Linked DNA regions of Homo sapiens: all the other regions are linked to region 3. Evidence: promoter capture Hi-C in 16 types of primary human blood cells and fetal thymus (Javierre and others, 2016). All regions are on one chromosome and are shown on one strand. Each heading gives the region's core, a stretch centred on a gene start or on the middle of the fragment in contact. The rest is flanking DNA. Distances are from core to core; before and after follow the strand shown. Region 1 holds the start of LOC124901993. Region 2 overlaps LOC107984005 (a long non-coding RNA gene). Region 3 holds the start of ANKRD46 (ankyrin repeat domain 46). Region 4 overlaps LOC107984005 (a long non-coding RNA gene). Region 5 has its middle 4.5 kb from the start of ZNF706. Region 6 overlaps LINC03090 (long intergenic non-protein coding RNA 3090).

Region 1 (3,959 bases), core at 726-3,225, 750 kb after region 3:
CACAAATACCACTCTCTCCATTGTTATATAGTTCTATTGCATGTACTGAAATCAAATAATATAACTCATTCCACAGTAACCTTCTTTTTCAAAATTGCTTTACATGTTTTAGGTCCTTTGCATTTTCACATACATTCTAGACCTAGTTTGTCAATTTCTACAAAGAGCCTGGGGTTTTGATTGGAACTATATTGAACCTATGTATCAATTTGGGGAGAATGGACAGATAACAATATTGAGTTTTCTGACCCATGAATAGGACATATCTCTCTTTCTTTAATTTCCCTCAGCAATGCTTTTTGGTTTTTAATGTATGTCTTGTACATATTTTATAAAATTTAACCAAGGAATTTAATACCTCTCTCTGCTCTTCATATGGCATTCCATGTACATGTGTTTATTACATGTAAATGTAATTGTTATTACAAGTAACGACGTGTAAATGTAATTGTAGTTACAAGGTCATTTTATATTGTCTTACAGGTCACTGATACTCAGTTCTTATTTTTTTTGTTTGTTTGTTTTTTGAGACAGGGTCTTGTTCTGTCACCCAGGCTACAGCACAGTGGCCCAGTCAGGGCGTACTGCAGCCTTGACCTCCCGGACTCAATCAATCCACTTGCCTCAGCCTCCTGAGTAGCTGGGACTACAGGCACACATCACCACACCCAGCTAATTTTTGTATTTTATTTTTTGAAGAGATGAGGTTTTGCTATGTTGCCCAGGCTGGTTTCCAACTCCTGGGCTCAAGTGATCTGCCTGCCTTGGCCTCCAAAGTGCTGAGATTATAGGCCTGAGCCACTGTGCCCAGTTCTTACATACTTTTTAAAATCGTATTTCTCTCTGGGTTTCATTTTGTGTAATTTCTATTGTTCTGTCTTTAAAGACACTAGTATTTACTTCTCCAGTGTCTAATCTGCTATTAATCCAAGCCAGTGTTTTTTCTTTTCTGATAATGTATTTTTCATCTATAAGAAGTTCTATTTATGTCCTTTATGTGTATTTAATTTCTCTCCTTATGATGTTCAGATTTTCCTCTAACTTTTTGAACATATGAAGTATATTTATAATATCTCATTTAACACCCGTGTATGCTAATTTAATTCTATGTCTGTTTCATTTGATTGTTTTTTCCTTCTGTCTATGGGTTGTATTTTCCTGCTTCTTTTCATGCCTGATAATTTTTGGCTGGGTGCTAGACAATGATAATTTTACATTGTTAAATGCTCAGTATTTTTAAACTATTATTTAAATATTGCTGGGCTCTGTTCTGAGATGCAGTTACTTGGAAATAGTTTGAACGTTTCAAGTCTTGCTTTTAAGCTTTGTTAGGAAGGGGAGTTCAGAACAATCTTTAGGACTTCTTGATTTATTTGGTCCCACTATGAAGCAATACCCTTCTTATGGGTACAATGCTCTATGTATCTGGAGGTTTTTCCACTCAGGCTAGTGCATATAAACTATTCTAGTCTCTGTGAGCTGTTGGAATTGTTCCACCTACATCTTTTCAGTGATTCTTTCCCCATTCTCAGTGGTCTCCTTCCCTGCATATAGAGATCAGTACAGCACAACCATACATACAAGGGGATCCCTCTGAAGAACGTCGGCCTGTTCTTTCTCTCTCTCACTCCTTGTTTTGAGGGAAAACCCTGTTTTTTTCTTTCTACTCTCTTGCACAGTCACTCAACACTGTATTTCTGACATCAGATGTATGGGGATTTCTCCCCATACATCAAGCAATTATCCAGTAGACATCAACTAAGTGTCCAATAATTCAATTCAATTCTGACACTATGTACCTGGAGATAGTATCAAATCCCACAGGTGAAGAGCTTAGTCCCAGAAGACTGCTGGTCCCTGCCCCCACTTCAGATGCCAGTAGCAAACCCCAGGTTGTGACCTGTGCTTCCAACTGACTGGCTATAGATCAGGGTTCCCATGACCCCCTCTTTGGGTTCAATTAATTTGCTACAGTGGCTCAACAGAACTCAGAGAAACACTTCACTTACATTTACACATTTATTATAAAGAATATTACAAGGCCAGGCGTGGTGGCTCATGCCTGTAATCCCAGCACTTTGAGAGGCCAAGGCAGGCGGATCACGAGGTCAAGAGATCGAGACCATCCTGGCCAACATGGTGAAACCCCGTCTCTACTAAAACTACAAAAATTAGCTGGGCGTGGTGGCATGTGCCTGTAGTCCCAGCTACTCAGGAGGCTGAGGCAGGAGAATTGCTTGAACCTGGGAGGCAGAGGTTGCAGTGAGCCAAGATTGCGCCACTGCACTCCAGCCTGGGGACAGAGTGAGATTCCTCAAAAAAAACCCCCAAAAACAAAGAATATTACAAAGGATACAGACAAATGACAGATGGAAGAGATGCACGAGACAAAATATGGAGGAAGGGGAGTGCCACCCTCCGGGCACCTCCATGTGTTCAGCAATCCGGAAGCTCTCCAAATTCCATCATTGTGAGTTTTTATGGAGGTTTCATTACATAGGCATGATTGATTCCCTCATTGGCTATTGGTGATCAACTCAACCTCCAGCCTCTTCACTCTCCCCAGAGGTTGGGGGATGGAACTGAAAGTTTCAACCCTCTGTTTACATGGTTGGTTTCCCTAGCAACAAGCTTCCATCCTCAGGCTATCCAGGAGCCCACCAAGAATCGCCTAATCAGAACAAAAGTTGCTTCTACCACTCCGGAAATTCCAAGGGATTTAGGAGCTCTATGTCAGACATTCTTATCACTTAGGAAACTGCAAAGGTCGCAGGAGCTCTAGGTCGGGAACTGGGGTCAAAGACCAAATTTTAGAACAAAAGACTCTCCTAGCACCACCATCTACAAGGGTTTCAGCAGCACTATGTCAGGAACTGGAGGCAGAGATCAAATATATATATTTCTTGTTATCCCATAATGTCACACTGTTATTTTTCCTACAAATTTTAGTCACCTTTGTCTCTCTTTACTAGGAATTGAGTTTCTTCAACTCAGGGGACCACGGGGCTCTGTCTGGGGCCACCTTTCTTACCCTGTAGCCTGTAAACTTGCTCCAAGTCCTGAGCTAAGGCACTCATAGGACACACCTTGTTTGTTTTCCTTTTCTCAGTGATCACCTATATGGCCAGGTTTCAGTGTCTGAAGAACATTGTTTCATATCGTTCGTCCATTTTTTCAGTTGGTTAAGATAGGAAGGTAATTCTGGTCCCTAGCTGAAAGCAGAAATCCTGTATTTTGTCATTTGTATTAAACCTGGTAACGTGCTGGGTACCTGAAGTACACGGCCCAGCACCTGGCACTGGAATAGCGATCAGCTCCTTTACTCCTCCTCATTGTGAAATGGCACAGGAGCCCCGTCATTTGACATGGTACCAGAAATGATTAGTTAGAAGACCATTCAGGAACTGTGCATGAAATATATAACTCAATTACAAAATATATAACTAACTCAATCACAAAATATAAAACTCAGTGGGTGTATTGAGCACCCATTGATGGCAGGTGCTGTTCTAAAGCAAAATTTTTGCCAACAGCAGCGATTTCAGGGCTGTTGGCATTCTTTATCTCCTGAGACTCTCCTTAGATTTCCTTATGAGAAACCGAGGTTTGACGATGAAGTAGGGTACTTCCTGGTGAGATTTACTGCTAAAGACTTTGCCAGAGGAGATTTCTTCTAATGATCAGGCCCCTCAGTAAAATGTATCTTCTATATTTCTAATTATAATTGACCAAGGAAAAAAGTCCAAATCAATTTTTATGGACAGTGAAGCCTCCACTGTCCTAAGTTGGTGTCTGCCTTTTCTGTCTCCCTGAATTCTACCTCCCTCCCAGAATGCCTGGTTCAGTCTGTGTGCTCCCGGGGGGTGATGGATAACACTGTTAAACACTCTGTGCTTCAGTTTCCTGCTATATAAAGCGAGGACAGTGATAGGACGGATTTCATGGGGTCGTTGGGAGAA
Region 2 (3,823 bases), core at 829-3,328, 690 kb after region 3:
CTCCTATAATCCCAGCACTTTGGGAGGCCGAGGCGGGTGGATCAGTCGAGGTCAGGAATTCGAGACCAGCCTGACCAACATGGTGAAACCCCGTCTCTACTAAAAATAAAAAATTAGCTGTGCGTGGTGGCTCACACCTGTAGTCCCAGCTACTTGGGAAGCTGAGGTAGGAAAGTCTCTTGAACCTTGGAAGCGGAGGTTGCAGTGAGCCGATATTTTGCCACTGCACTCCAGCCTGGGTGACAGAGTGAGACTATGTCTCAAAAAAAAAAAAATTTTGAGAGAAAAAGTATGAATATTACAAGCTCTACCCAAACTGGTCTTGATTAACATAGTTTTCTTCCATTTTCAAATAGATAACTTGGTTTTCTGGCTGGTGTTCCAATCACTGATGAGTGCATTCCAGCAGCTTTCTAACTGCTTTGTCTCTACGGCTTCCTGCTTGTTAATCCATCTTACTCTCACCATCAGTTAATGAACCAGAAGTGCTGCTTTTGTTATCTTATTTTCCTGTTATAAAAACAGTAATTCTCATTCCCCATTACTACTGAAGAGTGTCCAAGCTCTTAACAGGATATAGTAGATGGACTGAATTGATGTTGCCAGCTAAAAACCTCACTGTATCCATACCCATTGCAGTGAGATTTTTGAAAATCTCTCATCATAAGGTAGAATCTACTTCTCCCTCCCTTGAATATCAGCTTGCCTTGTGCCTCAAGAGGCCTTGCAGCTGCCACTGTGTTTCAGAACCCTCTCATGAGAATGCAAGCCTGGACTAGCCTGCTGGAGGAAGAGAAATCATGAGAGGGGAGCCTCATTGTCCCAATTGAGTCTAATCTTAGATCAGCCTTGTCTGGGGGAGGGGGAGGAGTCCTCTGGCCACCCACATGTTTGATGACTCACTAGAAGGACTCCCAGGACTCAGAGTCAGTTGTGCTCATGGTTATAGGTGATCAAAGGATACAAGACAGCATCAACAAGGGAAAAAGTCACATCAGTCTGGAGGAGTTTAAGTGCAGGCTTCCAAAGCTTTGTGTCTGGTGCAGGAGGTGGATTACACAGAACACACTTTTTCTTCCAGCAATAAAATTAAGTAACACATACACAATATTTCTGACTAGGGAAGCTGACTGGAGGCTCAGAGTCCTGGGATTTTATTGCAGAAATAGGCAGAGGATGCCTATGTGATCAGCCACAATTACTGAAATTCCAGTCCAGTGTAAATCACAGTGTTTGGATAAACATTCTAGGCAAGCTGGTGTGGTAGGATTCAGTGCCGTGGGCATGCCAAACAGCCTTATCAGTTAGGTGGTAGATAGAAGGATAGAATAAAGGCCCTTTGAAGGTGGTTAAGTTTCTATACCCAGAACCTGTTCATATGTTACCTTACATGACAAAAGGGACATTGCACATATGATTACATTAAGGATCTTGAAATGGTAAGATTTTCCTGAATTATTCAGGATTAAAGTCAGCAAGGGCAAGATAAAGGAAGTAGAGCGCAGAGATCCGCTGAAGGAGGGAGAGATTTGAAAATGCTTTGGTGCTGGTTTTGAAGATAGAGGAAGTGGTCATGTCTTAGTCCTTTTGTGTTGCCATAAGGGAATAGCTGAGGCTGCGTAATTTGCAAAGAAAAGGGGTTTATTTGGCTCACAGTTCTGCCAGCTGTACAAGAAGCATGGCACCAACATCTGCTTTTGACGAAGGCCTCAAACTGCTTCCACTCATGTCAAAAGGCAAAAGGGATCCTCTGTGTGCAAAGACTGTGTGGCAAGAGAGTAAGCAAGAGAGGAAGGGAGGTGCCAGGCTCTTTTCAATAACCAGCTCTTTTAGGAACGAATAGTGTGAGAACTCACTCATTACTCCAAATCCTACACCAAGCCTTTCATGAGGGATCTGATCCTATGACCCAAACACTTCCCAGTAGGCCCCACCTCCAACATCGGGGATCAAATTCAACATGAGGTTTGGTCCAACATCCAAACCATAGTGTGTCATGGGCCAGGGAATGCAGATGGTCTTTAGAAGTTTGAAAAGGAAGAAAATGAATTATTCTCCAGAGCCTCCAGAAGGAATGCAGTCCTTCTGATCCATTTTAGACTTCTAATCTCCAGAGCCCTAATATATAAAATATTTGTGTTGTTTTAAGCTACTAAGTTTATAGTAATTTGTTATATCAGCAATAGAAAACTAATATAAATAGTAACATAGGAAGCATTCCAAAAGCAAAGGTCCTAGAAACCAGCCAAGGGTCAGCTCTATAAGCAGGTCCTTTGGAGGAGCAACATCATCAGAACTACAATATTTAACTCTTTCCTATAAAAGCCTACAGCCAGACAATCACCAAAAATGTGAGAGGGACCAGCCAAGATCAGCAGAACAGCCTGCCTGACTGCAGAAATATGAGTGAGCCCAGTCAGGACCAAAATAACTTCAATACTGTGGGAAATAATATATCATTGTGGGCAATAATAAATGCTTTTTGTTTTAAGCCACTGAGTTTTATTGCAGTTTGTTATACAGCAATATCTAACTAATACATGGAATTCAAGGCTTTTGAGTAAACATGTAAGAGCCCAATCCATATATCATATCTTATCTCTTCTTCACAAACTTTGCTTTATTTATACTGATCTATTTAATGTCATCCAAACAATCTGTGTTCCTTCCTATCACTGTCCTTTTCTCCATGTCATCCTTGTATCTCAAGGCCTTTTCCATCCACATCTCTGCCTACTATTTCAGAATGTAATTGACAAGCATTTAGCATGCAATTTTTGTGAGCATCCAAGTTTTCAAGTCTAGTCAACTGATGCCATTTGGAATTTGGTTAGGATCATGAAGTGTGTTACTAGAATTAAACAGGCTTGTAAGTCATTGCCATCTGTAAGCTCTCAAAAGAACAAATACTTCAGAAAATACTTTCTGCACAGATGAGAAACTAGAGTTTGTGAGAGAGCTGCCAAAGTAATTTTTTATATTAGTGAGAAGGAGGCTTATTGATTATTTGAGTGCTTATAGAACTCTTATTTGTTCAGTCCCAGAGCTAAGCTGTCTGGTATACTCATTGGCACTTTGATTGTTTCTGTATTTATAAATGCTAAGAGCTTATCTGGCCCAGTGTTAGGAAGCTTGTTGTATATTTCATTGCTGTCTAAGAGTTAAAGCTAGCTGCAAAGTCTTGAAACCAGCCAGTGTTCTTAGGCAAGAACCACAAGTTGTGCTGACAATCACTAAATGGCGGGGTGGCAAATGGTCTTACTGGGTTGTAAAAATGAAATGCAACAACCTGTATTCATGGAGTGCTTACTATGTACTAAGCCTTGGGCCCAGCCATGGGCATACAGAAGTAAACAACACAGAAATAAATAACCTTTTGGAATTTATAATACAGTGTAAAAATAATAAAGTCTGGAGTAAATAATTTCTGTAAGTCAGCAATGAGATACAATGAGATACACAAGCATTTAAAGACGAAAAAAAATCTGACAATCATGATGTCATCCCAAGAATATCCCAGAATTCTTTGTGTAATGTAATGTATTCATTCCTAATTTTTGTGCCAATATTTATAATAATCTCATAGTCAACAGATATTTGTTGAGTGCTAACTATATCCTAAGCACTTTGACACCAAGGGAAACATGAAAAAATTTAACATATTCCCTGCCCTTGTGACTTTGTACATTCCAGCTAAACATTAATAGCAACAAGAACAAAATATCTGGGCTGCAAAAGTGTGGTTCTTATTGCATTAAATCAATTTAATTTGTATGCCTGGGTAAATCATCAAACACACTCCTAAAAATTATGTTTTTGTTTT
Region 3 (3,770 bases), core at 363-2,862:
TGGGACTATAAAGCCCAACTTATTTCCACAATGGGAAATACAATTTCCCTTTTGATAAAGAACTGTGAGAATCCTTTGTTTTCCATAGTAACACAATTTATATAACATGCCAAAAATTCCTTATCACTTCACATCCTCTCTCCAGTGCCTTTCCTGTATTCTGTAAAATATTAACTTACTATCATCAAAAAATCTTTGATTTCCCTCTGGTACTGCTACCATAATAATGCAAAGGCAAAGTGAACTCACTAAAAAATGGTATGGAAACATAAATAATGAAGAAATGTAATAAAGTGTGTTAACAACCAAACAAATTCATCTCTATTTCAAATCAAATTGTACTGGCACAGTGAGAACCCCAGTCCAAGTTTAACTTTATTATCACTATAGTCCTTAATGAGCTAACAGTTTTCTTACTAAACTCCTTTTAAACTAAAAAGGAGTTCATGTAGGACTCCTGCATATAACCATGAAAACTAAGCCTGAGAGAAATCAGTTCAGGCTACAAATCTAATTGATAAAACTCTTAGACAGCGCTACATGTTTGGCTAGATAACAGACGCAGGGATACTGAAGTAAGGGAGATGAGACCAAATCTCGCTCAGCCTTTGCTAGCTTTCTGACCTTGGAGAAGTCAGACTCTCGGTGCCTCAGTTTCCTTATCTGTATAATGGAAATGGTACCTGATAGGGTTGCTTCAAGGATTAAAGGTACCAGGTATTTAAAGCAATGGCACCGTGTCTGACATAAAATAAGCACTGAAAATAGCTATTACTAGAACATAAAAATAATCCCCACACCACTCATATTACAGCTCTTTAAGAGGCTCCTAGGTACCACCGTCATTTTTTAAAGATTGAGAAGCGCTACTATTCAATGGCATATTTTTACCTTATTATGTTCTGTAGCCAATTCCGAATACCGTGGAACGTTACAAAAAACAGATGTTATTTTCTTGAGGTACTGTTGGGAAAACCTCAGAGAGAACGATCTGCTTTTTAGCACTGCAAGCCAATTAAGGGAGGAAGTTTGCGATTACCCGAGCCCTAAGTGGAAGGTGTGCAAATCCTTCCTTTTAACCCGGGCACCCCGGAGCCATGTGCCATTCTGGAGAGCTCACTCACACCCCAACAGCTTGTCCCGGCGCCTGAACTGTGCGCTCCTGCAAGCACACGCCGCGAAAGCACCGTCTCGCCCCGGCCGAGCAGCTGGACCTGCGGCGTGGCTTCCGCGCTCCACCCCCCGATTAACCGCGAGCCAGGGCTGCCCGCGCTGCCCAGGGGTTCCCCGGACCACAGCCCTAACCCGCAAGCGCAAACGAGAACCCTCGCAGGCCTCTGCCCGGCCCTCGTGAACACACAGACCGCGAAGAAGCCATCACGGACCCGCGGTCGCTTCCTCGGCCCGGCTCCCTCCAGTCGCCGCGGAAGGTGTGGGAAGCCCGGGCACCCTCGCCCCTCAGGGCCCCGGCCAGGCCTACTGGACCTCCAGTGCTACAGGGACGGTGCAGGAGATATCAAGTGGCTCTAGCCCAGGCGCTGCCCACAGGCCCCGGGCCAAGTACCTGCGACTCGAACGAGCAGCAGCGACAGCGGCAGCTTCAAGGAGGCGGTGACGGGCGGAGGGGAGGGGCCAGACAGGGGTAGTCGGAGTCCCCGCTGGGCCAGAGCGGTCTCGCGCTGCAGCCCCCGGCGCGCCCCCTGCAGGTGGGCGGTCCTCACGGTGGCTCGGGCTGCTCTGAGTCAGAGACTCCGGGAAAGCCTGCTCTGAATTAGGGAAAGCATCAAAACTGTGGCTTCAGAAGAGAAAGACAGCCTAGAAGAGGTTTATCCGATCTGAGTCCGGGAGCATTTTGCACTTTTCACGTCCTATTCTAAATTCACATCCCATCCCCTTAGCTAAATGGGGGCTTCAAAGGCAAGGGCAGTTTCATTAGGTGCTATAAGCATCAATTAATAGTTGCTGGCCTCTAGGTAGGTCTTCTATAGACCCGAAATTGACATATTAGGAATAGCCACTAATGATTGGCTGCACTATTTCTAAAATATAACCCTGCATTTTTACTTTTTTCAAAAGCAGTTTGAATCTTTTTTTTTTTTTTTTTTTTTAGACGGAGTCTCACTCTGTCGCCCAGGCTGGAGTGCAGTTGCTCAACCTCGGCTCACTGCAAACTCCAACTCCGCCTTCCGGGTTCAAGCGATTCGCAGTTTGAATCCTTCCATCCTACTTTGTAGGGTTCCTTGACTTATTGCAACATGTACAGCCAAGACTAACTAAAAGTGTGGTGGGACATTCATATGCTGGAAACATTCTTTCATGCAAAACTAGTTTTTTCTTTTTTTCATTTTACCAACTCCAGTCCTACAGCCAAGACAACTCTCACTGCACAGTGACCGTCCTCTGAATTCTAGCACCCTCATCCAACCAAGCCACGCTCTATGGCAAACTTGTCCAACCCCTGGCCCACACCTGCAGGCTGCATGCAGCCAAGACAGTTTAGAATGCAGCCCAACACAAATTAATAAACTCTCTTAAAACATTATGAGTTTTTTTTTTTTTGCAATTTTTTTTTAGCTCATCAACAATTGCTGGTGTTAGTGTATTTTATGTGTGGCCCAAGACAATTCTTCTTCCAATGTGGCCCAGGGAAGCCAAAAGATTGGACACCCCTGCTCTAGGGTATCTCATGGTTCATTCATTCAAGGACCACCTACACCATCTAATAATTTGTTCTTGAAAGTGTCATGTAAAGGTTTAGGACTATTGTCATATTAGAGGAAATCACTATTACATTTCTTTCATGTAAGAATTATAAGATCTGGCCATGCACGGTGGCTCACACCTGTAATCCCAGCACTTTGGGATGCTGGGGTGGACAGATCACTTGAGGTCAGGAGTTCGAGACCAGCCGGACCAACATGGTGAAACCTTGGCTCTACAAAAATACAAAAATTAGCCAGGCACGGTGTTGCACACCTGTAATCCCAGCTACTCAGGAGGCTGAGGCACAAGAATCCTTGAACCCCAAAAGGCGGAGGTCACAATGAGCCGAGATCTCACCACTGCACTCCAGCCTGGGTGACAGAACAAGACTCCATCTCAAAAAAAAAAAAGTTATAAGATCTTAGGGCATTTCACATTTTATTGTGCTATGACTAATCAGCAATATTACTTGTTAAATTGATGACATTTATTAATCAGTTTGTTATTGATGTCCTCCTTCTGGTTGTGTATTGAGTTTATAATATCTTCACTGATGCCTATAAACTATGACAAATTAGCAAGGAAATTAAAGCTTTTCCCAATGTATTAATAAGATTTACTCTTCATTAGTTGACTCATCCAACAATCTGAGAGCCTCTCCATTACTTCTATTCAAATTTATCTCTTCCTCTTCATGAATTACTGCTTTTGATTGATATGAAAAAATGTAGGGATGGTGAAGACAGCTTTTTTCTCTGATGAGATTAAAGTGAACTGCATGCTGCACATATTCTATGGCTCCTTCATGTTACCACACCTGGGCACTTTGACACAGTGGCTGTTAGGAGCTGATATGGTTTGGCTGTGTCCCTGCCCAAAATCTCATCTTGAATTATAATAATACCCATATGTCAAGGGCAGGACCAGGTGAAGATAATTGAATCATGGGGGCAGTTTCCCCTATGCTGTTCTCATGAGAGCGCGTGAGTTCTCATGAGATCTGATGGTTTTATAAGGGGCTTCTCCTTTTGCTCAGCACTCATTCTGTCTCCTACCACCCTGTCAAG
Region 4 (3,783 bases), core at 329-2,828, 730 kb after region 3:
AGGCTGAGGCAGGAGAATTGCTTGAACCCGGGAGGCGGAGGTTGCAGTGAGCAGAGATTGTGCCACTGCACTCCAGCCTGAGCAAAAGAATGGGAGTCCCTCTCAAAAAAACAAAAAAGCCAGAAATACATATTTTTAAAAAAATATAAAATATTCCAATTTTTTAAAGGCTGACAGCCAACCAATAACAAACAGACAATACTGCAAAAACCCAAATGGAATATATCTGGGGGCTGCATTTGGCCCACAAGTCACCCATTTGCAACCTCTGGAAAAGCCTTCCTGAATTGACGCCTAAAGCCATGTTTGTGGTCTCCCCTTAGCAAACTTAGAGGATGCATGGGGTGTATTTTTGATACTTGATCATATTTCAGGGTTCATTTTATGTAGCCTTGTGTTTCCTTTGCTTCTTCATCATCATTTAATTCTATTAAATGTTATCTCATCCAACTGCATGTATCACCAAAGATGCCTTTTTGGAATAAGAAAGATAAATGAATTTCTTAACTGCAACATACTTGACCTCCCTGTTCTCCCAGGTCCCCACACTGGGCTAGTCTTTAGCTGAGTGCTGATGAGTCTAAGACGATCATGGTAATTCCTTCCCAGGGATTGGTTTTGGCATGCTCATGTGACACAACTCTAACCAATGACATGTAAGAGAAAGTATGGGGGAGGAGTGTACGTTGGAAAAGTTTTTTTAATGAAAAAGCTCTTGGACTCTTTAAACCATTGTGAGTCCCAGAGCTGACAGCCCTGGGACTTCCTCCTTCTCCTGGTTAAGTGAGATAACTAGTTTTTCTTATTATTCAAGCGACTTTTATTCAGGTTTTTCTGTTTGTAGCCAAAGCATCTGAGTTGATATAAAAAGGAAATTTCTAGGTCGTTAGCCATGCTCAGCTCACAAGATCAGATAATTTACCTATTCAGAGGGGATAGGCTGACTGCTCCTCAAGGGCCACCCTATTGAGAAGACCAAACTGTAGATTTCCATCTCTGCTGCTATTGCGGGTGGGTTGCGGGAGGCTGCAGGCACATTCCCTCCATAGCATTTACTGATTGCCTGCGTGAAGAATCCTTAATTCCAGTAAGCATGGTGAATGTGAGCAGAAGGAACTAGGTGTATTTTTAAGGACAGCCTCATGGAGTTCTAGAGATGAAAGCTGAAGGAATTTTCCTGAAAAGGACTGGGTAAGTGCATTTTCTTCTCACAACTAGTTAGAGTTCCTAAACTGTTAGGATGATGCCAGGTTTTGTTGATTTTTTTTTCTTTTCTTTTTTCTTTTTTGAGATGGAGTTTCACTTTTGTCGTCCAGGCTGGAGTACAGTGGCATGATCTTGGCTCACTGCAACCTCTGTCTCCTGAGTTCAAGCCATTCTCCTGCCTCAGCCTCCCAAGTAGTGGGGATTACAGGTGTGTGCCACCACACCCAACAAATGTTTCTATTTTTAGTAGAGACGGGATTTCACCACGTTGGCCAGGCTGATCTTGAACTCCTGACCTTGAGGGATCCGCCTGCCTCTGCCTCCCAAAGTGCTGGGATTATAGGCGTGAGCCACTGCACCCAGCCGATTTTTTTTCTTATATCAAATATTTGAACCATGTTTAGCTCTCACTTTTCTGCAATAAGCTACGAAATGTGATTTGTGACACCTAGAGATGCACCAAGGGCTCAATAACCCACGAGCCCCCCTAAATGCATGGATAGGACCAGCCTGAGGCAAAGCTGTGATATGGGCCCTCCCATCCCACAGTGTCAGTGGACCCAGATGGGTCACCCTCTGGTCTGGGAGTCCTCTCCCTACCTCTGGAAGAAATGTTGGGTTTCTTCCAACATTTGCCATTTCCTGAGCCCATCAAAGCTACAGAAAGTCCTGCTAGTAATAAAGAGGATGGTGATAGTAGTATGAGCCACAGCAGTAGTAGTAAAGCCTAACCACACCGAGACCTTGTATGTGTTAGACACTTTAAGTACTCTATCTATAGTAACTCATTTAACTCACAAAAACCTGGAAGGTAAGTTATCCTCATTTGACAGATGAGAGAGCTGGAGCCAAAGTCACATAGCTAGTTGGTGGCAAAGTTGGGATTCAAAGCCAGGCAGTCTCATTCTGGGCCTTGTGCCAGATGAATGTGCCACTGTCCTCTCAAGTGTTAAGTGATTACTCCTGGGGATGGGGAGAGGGGTAGGGGGACTTTTTAAACATTTTTAAACATGCACTAATTTTAGCTGACTTAAAAATGTTAGACATGACAGCCAGCACACACTCTTGGAAGTTCGTGTCTAGAGACTGCACCTTAACATCTGCTATGATAGCACTCATAGCCCATCTTCCCACATGGCTTCTGAAAAACCACTACCATTGTTTCCATTGATGAGACCCAGGAAGAGAGGAAATCGAGGATGGATTTTATGGTTACAGTTTGGGGGCCTTTATGTGGTTCCTGGACAACCTTGGCTAGAACACCCCCGGCTTTAGGGGGATGGTAGTGGAGAATTAGTCAAGTAAAGACATATGAAATCTGGAATTATGCAATTTCTAATTCTTGGGCAGGGTGTTTATCTTGGCTCTTAGACTGCAGAGTTCATAACTCAAGAGTACAGCTACTGATATATTTTTACAAAGTGATTATCTGATTTTCTTGGTTTCGATGTCTTTCATCAGTTAGGTGTCAATGGCTACCTATGCTCTGGTTACTATGGTTGCATAACAATTACCTCCCCCCGCATCCCCATTCCCAAACATAGTGGCATAAAACAGCCATGTATTAGGCTCACACATTCTGTGGGTCAGGAATTTGATCAGGGCAGAGGAATTCTATGGAGCAGAGACAAGAGGATGGCTGGCTTGACTCTACTCCACAGTGTCTGGGGCCTCAGCTGAAAGCCCTGAAGACTGCAGGCTAGAATCTTCTGAAGGTTTGTCCATTCACATGTCTGGTGGTGGATGCTGGCTGTTGGCTGAGGTCATCAGTCCCTCCCCATGTGGCCTCTCCACTTGGACTTGTTTGGACTTTGTCGCTGCATGTTGGCTGGAAAGCGAGCACTGGGAGGGCTTGGAGGGGGAGGAGAGGTGGAAAGCAATGCAAGCAGTGGATGGAGGCTCTGACCTTTTTGGGATCTAGCCTCTGAAGTCACAGAGCATCAGTCACTTCCACCATTCTTCAGTGACTTGAGCAGCCATAGGCTTGTCCCTAGATTCAAGTGGAGGAAAAACAGATGCCACCTCTCAGTGGGTGGGCACCAGTCACATTATAGGAAGAGCTTGTGGAATGAAATAGTAATCTCCATCTTTGGAAAATGCAATCTACCCCTCATAGGATGGTGGCATCAGTGGCAATAATGGCAGCAGCTGCAGAATAAGCCTTAACTGTGCTTCCCACATGTACCAGAGAGACCCCCCACCCCCTCCATTATAGTTTAGAAAAGACTCCTCACGCTAGTTTCGACAGTTACCTACCCTATATCCCATTCCATACAGCCTTGTTTGGAGCCAGTTAATTGGAGAAACTCATCTCTGTTAATGGGTGCTAATGGGTTACTCATCCCATGAGGCCTAACTATAGGTAATGGGGATCTGCCTTCTGGAGACAGGATTACTTATCCTAGGTGACTTAACAATGGCCCTAGAAGAAGGGAGTGGGTACAAATGGCTCTCTTTTGGTGCCACTCAGCTCACATTGTGTGGGCAGACACCTGGCTCCAAACTGCAAGCCAGGATCCATATGACAGCTCAATTAATGCAAGATTGCTGGGTGCAGCTATCCACTACAAGATAAGC
Region 5 (4,041 bases), core at 71-2,570, 650 kb after region 3:
CATCTGTGAAGTGACACTCAGTAAATGAAAGGCGGATGAATTAGCATTACTACCAGCTGGTGTCCTACTTATGTTATAGAAATGTGACAGCAAATGTGATATGAACTCCTTAGAAGCATTTTTATACACATTGCTGGCTTTAATTGTGAATGCTACAGTAACTCTCCTGACTGTTTTTCTTCTTCTGCCTTTAGACAATTACCCAAGGTTAAGATGCAATAAACATGTGCCTATTTTCTATCCAAAATCTCAATCAGATTAAAATGCTTCTCTAAAGACCTGAAAGGCTTATTTGTTTATTTGTATTCATGTAGGATTTGGGGGGATGAAAGAATTGGTGATTAATCAACATATTATTTTCCCAATAAACAGACTATTCTGACAAATGTTTAGTGGCAAATAATAGCAACAGCAATAATGGCAACAATAAACTTAGAACAGAAATGGATTTATTTTTATTTATTTATTTTTTACCAGCTCTTTCTCTTTCACTCGCTTCTGCATGTTGAGATTTCTCACACATGCAACCTAGATCTTCTTGTCTTCTTTATATTCTTTCTCCAAAGGAATCTCATTCACTGTTGTGCCTTTAAATAGCAAGCTTCAGGTGACCCCCACATTTCTATCTCCAAATTGACATATCCAAATGCCTACTACTCATCTCCCCTCTGATGTCTTATAGACATTCACATTTAATAGCATATTGTATTGAGTCTAAGGAGCCATTAATTGTAAGTCACATTTATGTCCACTAAGATTAAAAAATACTGCCAACTGAACTATGACAAAATGCTGATATCCTTGATTCTAAGATACATCTTGATTTCAGAGACTTTAAAAATAGGCTTAAAAAATAATGTGATTTACTAGAATAGCACCAAAAAGAATAAAATACTTAGGAATTAACTTACCAAGAGAAGTGCAAAACTTGTATTCTAAACTCTAAATAACATTGTTGAAAGAAATTAAAGACCTAAATAAATGGAAAGGTATCTTATGTTCATGGATCAGAACACTTTGTAAAGATGGCAGTAATTCCCAAGTTGATCCACAGATTCGGTGCAACCCCTATCAAAATCCTGTCTGGTATCTTTACATAAGCTTATTCTAAAATTTATATGGAAATTCAAGGAGCCCAGAATAGCCAAAACAACCTTGAAAAAAGAATAAAATTGGAAGATTCACATTTCCCAATTTAAAAACTTATTACAAAGCTATAGTAATTAAAACAGTGTGGTACTGGAATAAGATTAGACATATAAATCAATGAGGTAGGATTGAGAGTCTAAAAATAAACCTTCATATGTATAGTCAATTGATTTTCAACACAGGCACCAAACAAATTCAATGGGGCAAGGAGTCTTCAGCAAATATTACTGGGATAGCTAGATATCCACATGTAAAAGAATAAAGTTGAATCCTATCCTCATACCATATACAAAAATTAACTCAAAATGGATAGAAGACCTAAATGTAAGTGCTAAAACATAAAAGTCCTAGGAGAAAACATAGGAGTAAATATGTATGACCACGGGTTAAAAAAGCTTTTTTTTTTTTTTTTTTTTTTTTTTGAGACAGAGCCTTGCTTTGTCGCCATGCTGGGGTGCAGTGGCGCAATCTTGGCTCACTGCAACCTCCACCTCCCGGGTTCAAGAGATTCTCCTGCCTCAGCCTCCCGAGTAGCTGGGACTACAGGCACACGCCACCATGCCCAGCTAATTTTTGTATTTTTAGTAGAGATGGGGTTTCACCATGTTGGCCAGGATGGTCTTGATCTGTTGACCTCGTGATTCACCTCAGGTGATCCACCTGCATCAGCCTCCCAAAGTGCTGGGATTATAGGCATGAGCCACTGTGCCAGGCCAAAAAAGGCTTTTTAAGGTATGACATCAAAAGCATTAGTGACAAAAGAAAAAAAACAGATAAATTGAACTTCATCAAAATTAAGATACTTTGTGCTTCAAAAGATGCCATTAAAAAAAAAAAAGACCACCTACAGAATGGGAGAATATGTTTGCAAATTATATATCTGATAAATGACTTCTATCTAGAATATATAAAGAATGCTTACAACTTCATACTAAGAAAGCAAATACCCAATTAAAAAATAGGTGACGGATCTGATTAGCTACTTCTCCAAACAAGATGCCCAAATGGCTAATAAGCACATGAAAAAATGCTCACCATTCTTAGTCATCAAAGAATGCAAATCAAAATATGAGATAGTATTATACTTCACACGCACTGGGATGGCTGTAATCGAAAAGACAGATGATAACAAGTATTGGAGAGGAGGTGAAGAATTTAGAAACAGTCTGGTGGTTTTCCAAAAGATAAACATAGAGTCATCATATAACCTAACAATTCCAATCCTAGATATATATCCAAGAGCAATGAGAACATACGTTCACACAAAAGTTTGTACATTTTAAGCAGCATTATTCATAATAGCCAAAAAGTAGAAACAACCCAAATATTCAGCAGGTGATGAACTGAGAAACTGTGGTATGGCCATAAAATGAAATATTATTTGGCCATAAAAAGGAATGAGGTTCTGATACATGCCTCAACTTGGATGAACCTTGAAAACGTTATGCTAAGTGAAAGGAGGTCCTTCCTTGAGCCCCCATCTGAATGAGGAGTCCTTGTACTTTTCATCCTTTGAATTTATCATGCAATATTATGTATTGTTTCATGAAATGTTTTACATATATATGTATATATAATGTATATGTGTATATATAATGTATATGTGTATATATATAAATTTGTAGAATTTCTCCTTTCCATTTGATTCCTAAAACAATAACCTGTAACACCTGTGCTGTACTTACTATCTACCAGGCACTGTTATATATGCTTTATATATTTTGATTCATTTAACCTTCTCAACAACTCTTATGTAGCTGAGGTACAAAATGGCTAAGTTATCTAAGATTACACAGCTAGTAAGTAGAAAAGCTAAGATTTGGCTCCTGGCAGTCTTTTTCCTGAGGCTGAGCCGTGGTCCTGTGTATACTATAAGGGTGGTTCTGTATCTGTTCTTTTTATCCCTGTGTAGCCTGTATTTAGCATAGCATCTGGCATGATGTAGGTACCCAATAAATATTTGTTGAATGAATGTAAGTCTGAATGATTCCTTTAAACTCGGTTAGGAGACCTCCTAGGTATCACAGATTATGATGTACTTCCCTAAAAATAGCACTTATCTCACTGTGTTGTACTTGCCTGTTTATCCATAGAAGATGAGCTCCCTCAGGTCCTGAGTTATGTCTTGTTAACCAGCATCTAGTACAGTGCCTGGCACCTAGCAGGTAGTTAATAAGTATCTGTAAATGGATGAAATAAGAGAGTGGATTGTGAATGAAATTACAAGTATCAGTGACAATCCGTGAGGCCAGTATTTGAAAATGATTACCCCTGCCATCCAGTTAAAGATAGAGGCTTGAACACATGCATTTACCTCTACCCTTTGTTGGAATCCCACTAAAAATAATGGTAAAGGAGTTTATAAGAAAGCATAAACTCCTTTACCATTGAAGAAAAGAAAACAGAAGAGAAGAATGTAGCAGAATTTTGGAAGCTGCAAAGTAAGTAAACAAGTGGTAACTGATTTAGGAGAGAAGAGGGTTTCTGGACTGAAGGGGCAGCAAGCATGAGTGGGGGTAGCAAAACAGAGGACTAAATGAAAATTTAAGTTGAATGTTGAGAGACACTTCACCATCTCAGCTCTGAGAATGGAAACAGACAATCTTATACCTCCAGCCAGAAAACTGAAAGAGTTTTCTTGGGGATTAGAACCCAACTCAATGGAAATACCTAAAGATACTGATACTTGGGATTGCCCAATAAGACAGCACAGCCAGGTAATCCTGCAACAAATCCCATGTTTGAAAAGTGGCACCTGCATGTATCAGTCTTCCAATCAGATGTCTAGTGCCCTGTTCTTAAATGTGAGCACACAGCCAAGGATAACCAAACATTTGAGGAAAACCTCTTATATGAAACACAGAGTCCCCAAAGTTGCAGAGAAAAAAGCAA
Region 6 (4,191 bases), core at 226-2,725, 580 kb after region 3:
ATAGACTAGCTGCGCTCCCCTGCTAGAACCTCCAGACAAGCTCTTGATAATATCCAGTCTTAAAGAAGGATCTGTTACATGTGCTTCAGAACAAGTGGATTAAGTACAATTGAAGATTCCATGTATAATTTCAATCATCTTTTAGTTAAAAAAAAATTTAACTGAAAGCATTTCCGTAAGAGCTACTCCAACCTGGAGATCACCAAGTAAAACGGAGGAGAAGGGCCAAAAGTTTGAGAAAATGGATTTCAGTTTGAGCTGAAATACTAAGTAAAGTCCTACCTAAAGTTGACTTTATCCCCAAGTGAAATGGAGAGAAATCAAGAGGGTAACATATGAGATCAGTCAACCGTGGGCATGACAGGGAGTCAGTGAGTAAGCAGTTTTAGAGAATCAACAGCCTGCAATTCCATCAAGATAGTTGAGAGACAGACCCAGGAATCATCCTAGCAAAGCGACAGCCTCCGTCACTTGCAGTGGCTAAAAGATGTGAAGACAAGACACCATCAAGCCCAAATCTTATTGGTTACAAAAATGGCTGAATCTAATAATGCTGACAACACATTATATCAACCAAGGTGAAGTCTAAGTAGTTTTACTTTATTTAGATGATGTATCTGGATTTTTCCTGTTCAATTTTCTTAGATCTTTGAAGGAATTGCCCTGTGTCCATTCCAAGTATTTCTGGTGAGTCATCAAGTTTCCTGGCTGCAGGAGTGGGTTCATTCCCCCATGCCCCAGCAACAGTGATCAGAATAAAAAGGGTGAATGCAAGATCTAATAGGCCAAATCCATTTATATACGGATGGTGGGATGAAAACACTTTTTTTTTGTTGTTTGTTTTTTCTATCGAGATTTTTATAATGGAAGGATATACATCTGAGGCTGTGGTGGGAAGAGCTTTCTGTAGCATGAAAGGAAGAAAAGAGAAGCAGAGAGGAGAGGCAGACAGAGATTCAACAGCAGTGGTTTCCAACCTTGGCTAAACATTGGAATCAACTGCGGAGCTTGAAAAAATACTGGTGCCTGGATCCCAGCCCCAGAAATTTTCATTTGGTTGGTTTTCGGTGCTGCCTAGGCCTTGGGACTTTTAAAAGCTTTCTTGGTGATTCTTACAAGCAGCTGAGGATAGAAACCACTTGTCTTGAAGCACCAGGTCACATTTGAGCCCGGGGCACAAATTCCAGCTGTTCTTTCTTGTTCTGTAACCCATCTTGGTATCCTCAGTTGTCAATAACTTCTCTCTCTCTCTCTTTTTTTTTTTTTTTTTTTTGCTTAATTTAGTTTGAGTTGAATTTCTGTTATATGCGGCCAAAAGAAGTCTAACTAAGAAACTAAAAATACTCTGTAATCATAGCTAACATTGATTCAGCCTCAGTGATGTGCAAGGCACTGTTTGAAGTGCTTACTTGCAGTAACTTGTTTAATTTAATTCTTACAGCATCCCTATAATTTGAAAGCCATTATTGTCCCTATTTTACAGGTGAGGAAATGAGACATCAAAAGATTAAGTGACTTGCTAAAATTTACACTGCCTACGAAAGCTGACCTGGAATGTGAACCAGAAATTGTCCTTAACCAAATCACCTCACTGTCTCTCAAGGTAAAACCAAGTAAGGAGGCAGATTCTCTGCATTAAACCCCAAAATGGAGTCTTCAAATAGCCATAATATAAGTGCTGTATAAAAATAATTTAAATTTTTTTCTCTTTTATAGAGATGGGGTCTCACTACATTGCCCAGGCTGGCTCTCAAATTCCTGGCCTCAAACGATCCTCTTGCCTTGGCCTCCCAATATGCTGGGATTACAGGCATGAGCCAACACACCCAGCTGTGAGTATTTTTTATCAGGAAGAAGCTTTTGGCTGTAAGAACAGAAAGTTCCAACTCTACCAACTTGCACGCTTATTTAATATCTGGAGGTGGGGCAGTTCCGGGACTGGCTGTTGCAGTAGCTCATTTGAAGCCATCTGGTCTCCAGCTTCCTTCCCCCTTTCTGCTCTGCCCTGCCCAGTGTGCTGGCCTCTTTCTCAGGCTGGTTGCCCCCAGCTAGCAAGGGGGCTGCAGACCCCAAACATCGCATTCTCATGCAACAACCATAGGCAGAGAAAGGTGCTGTTTATTCACCTGTGTCTCTTCTTACCAGGTATTAAAGAAACACCTTGTGCTAAAGGCCTCCAGTGGAATTCCCCTTGTGTTTCATTATGGGAAAGGGGGAATGGGAGCACCAGGATTCACTTGGGTCCATGGGGCATTGTGAAAATGTGAAGGGGGTCATTTTTGGCTGGCACAATAATTCAAGGAGGGCTATGACCATGCAGTGGGCAGAGGCTAGAGATGGTAGACAACCTGCGATGTGTGGGATGGTCATGGTCACACTCTGTGACCTGCATGATTTTTGAATGTCCCATTGAACATTTGCACAAATGAAAAATCTTCAAAGTGATCTGAGCTAAAACCAAACTCTCATATATAAACCCAAAGTATTTAAAAAACACACTGTATTTTCCAGGAAAGCAATTGCTGTGCACATCGAGAGAAGATCTTGCTTTGTTTTGTTTAGAACTTTTCCAGGAGTTGTTCACTGTTTTGGAAAATCACATTAGCAATGTCAACATTACTCATGGAATTCGAGCCTCCAGTACAATACACCCGATGGGCCTGCCCCAGTGGCTGCCACATTGACTGTGATTCTAGGTATGGATCCAGGCACCTGCAATGTTATTTCTTTTAGCACAGTTCTGCCAAGAATTTGCATGTTGAAATACATGTTGTTTTATTGTACATTATTTCTCTTTTAATTCCACTTCATAATAGTTATTTGATTTTTAAAATTATGTGTACAGATAGTTTATGTTGTATACAAATTTCATTTCAGTGTAGTAAAAGGGACATTATAAAATATTTGTAGGGCTGGGTGCAGTGGCTCATGCCTATAATCCCAACATTTTGGGAGGCTGAGGTGGTAGGATTACTTGAGCCCAGGAGTTCAAGACTAGCCTCGGCGACATAGAAAAAACCCTGTCCTTACAAAAAATTAAAAAAAGAAAATTAGCTGAGCCTGGCGGTGTGTGCCTATAGTCCCAGCTACTCAGGAGGCTGAGCTGGGAGGATCATTTGAGCCCAGGAGTTTGAGGCAAAAAAATATAAAAATATTTGTGATAAAAAGAGGGTACTGGGTCCAACAGGGAGGAGATCCACTGTTTGGACCAGTAAAGATTCATCTCCTGGGTCCTCAGATGGGACGCACCTCCCTGAAGCCTCTACCTAGGCCGAGGAGGATAAGTACCAGGAGAGGCAGGGTTCTTTGGGGAAGCAAGAAGTAAGAATTGGCCAGGGGGTAGCAAGAACATTGTCTGCTCCAGGCAGGTTCTATTCAGCGCCATCCAGGAGCTACCTGGATTCAGTAGCTGCAGCTTTCCAGGCAGGAGAGAGGAGTTTGTTGTTGAGAAAGACACGAATCATCAGGTCCACCATGGCCTGGATAAAATGCCATTGACTGAATCCACCTTCCTTGCTTTTTATTCTAGCTCCACAGAACAGTCTTCTGATTACTAATGTGGCATCCTGGCTACAATTTTTTTTTTTTTTTTGAGACAGAGTCTTGCTCTGCTGCCCAGGCTGGAGTGCAGTGGTGCAATCTCGGCTCACTGCAACCTCTGCCTCCCGGGTTCAAGATATTTTCCTGTCTCAGCCTCCCAAGTAGCTGAGAGTACAGGTGTGTGCCACCACACCCAGCTAATTTTTGTATTTGTTGTAGAGACAGGGTTTCACCATGCTGGCCAGGCTGGTCTCGAACTCCTGACCTGAAGTGATTTGCCAACCTTGGTCTCCCAAAGTGCTGGGATTACAGGTATGAGCCACTGCACCTGGCCCTGGCTGCTTTGATACTAGGAAGAATTAGCCAGGTGGCTCCCAATGCTGGTCATTAATGTTCTGATCCCTGAGAAGGGGCATTCTCAGTTGTGAACAGATGTACTGGTGCTCTGATCAATTCTTTATTCTCTGTGGATCTGGTTAAGTCAGTAGCTCAGAACTGACCTATTCTGGGTGTCCTGACAAAGTGGAGTTCTGGGACTTGCAAAGCTGAAGTAGAAAAAGACCACCTCCAGGTGCTGCCACCAGAAAAGGCCCTTCCTGGGTAACTGCTGGCTTCCCTGGATGGCAGGGGCTTTCAAACTTCTGGCTGTGT

What was found. The method cuts DNA at HindIII sites, captures the fragments that hold promoters and counts their contacts. A CHiCAGO score of 5 or more calls a contact.
Region 1: a contact is called between a fragment that was not itself captured here and the fragment with the promoter of ANKRD46 in region 3, in 7 of 17 cell types (total B cells, naive B cells, total CD8 T cells and 4 more). The highest score is 10.3, in total B cells.
Region 2: a fragment that was not itself captured here is called in contact with the fragment with the promoter of ANKRD46 in region 3 in 1 of 17 cell types (naive CD4 T cells); the score reaches 5.4 in naive CD4 T cells.
Region 4: a fragment that was not itself captured here is called in contact with the fragment with the promoter of ANKRD46 in region 3 in 4 of 17 cell types (naive CD8 T cells, naive B cells, naive CD4 T cells and 1 more); the score reaches 8.1 in naive CD8 T cells.
Region 5: a fragment that was not itself captured here is called in contact with the fragment with the promoter of ANKRD46 in region 3 in 1 of 17 cell types (naive CD4 T cells); the score reaches 7.1 in naive CD4 T cells.
Region 6: a fragment that was not itself captured here is called in contact with the fragment with the promoter of ANKRD46 in region 3 in 4 of 17 cell types (naive CD4 T cells, naive CD8 T cells, total CD8 T cells and 1 more); the score reaches 7.1 in naive CD4 T cells.

What each region holds. Positions count from the first base shown.
Region 1 is chr8:101,308,338-101,312,296 of GRCh38, forward strand. It overlaps LOC124901993, which reads left to right and starts at 3,787. Exons shown (of 6, transcript XM_047422526.1): 1 at 3,787-3,959. The HindIII fragment of the contact is 1,308 bases long and covers 1,322-2,629 here.
Region 2 is chr8:101,244,754-101,248,576 of GRCh38, forward strand. The region is part of intron 1 of LOC107984005 (a long non-coding RNA gene); the gene reads left to right. Among named protein-coding and RNA genes, the nearest start is that of LINC02844, 16 kb to the right of the region's middle. The HindIII fragment of the contact is 2,102 bases long and covers 1,028-3,129 here.
Region 3 is chr8:100,558,147-100,561,916 of GRCh38, forward strand. ANKRD46 (ankyrin repeat domain 46) reads right to left here and starts at 1,613. Exons shown (of 5, transcript NM_001270377.2): 1 at 1,565-1,613. RefSeq lists enhancers at 1,515-1,809, 1,777-1,916 and a silencer at 1,607-1,776. The HindIII fragment of the contact is 4,322 bases long and covers 1-3,293 here.
Region 4 is chr8:101,289,269-101,293,051 of GRCh38, forward strand. The region is part of intron 4 of LOC107984005 (a long non-coding RNA gene); the gene reads left to right. Among named protein-coding and RNA genes, the nearest start is that of LINC02844, 28 kb to the left of the region's middle. The HindIII fragment of the contact is 4,404 bases long and covers 1-3,780 here.
Region 5 is chr8:101,208,111-101,212,151 of GRCh38, forward strand. No RefSeq gene overlaps it. Among named protein-coding and RNA genes, the nearest start is that of ZNF706, 4.5 kb to the left of the region's middle. The HindIII fragment of the contact is 443 bases long and covers 1,100-1,542 here.
Region 6 is chr8:101,138,149-101,142,339 of GRCh38, forward strand. It overlaps LINC03090 (long intergenic non-protein coding RNA 3090), which reads left to right. Exons shown (of 7, transcript XR_928462.3): 6 at 1,484-1,603; 7 at 1,717-2,175. It also overlaps the pseudogene RN7SKP249. Among named protein-coding and RNA genes, the nearest start is that of LINC03090, 12 kb to the left of the region's middle. The HindIII fragment of the contact is 760 bases long and covers 1,096-1,855 here.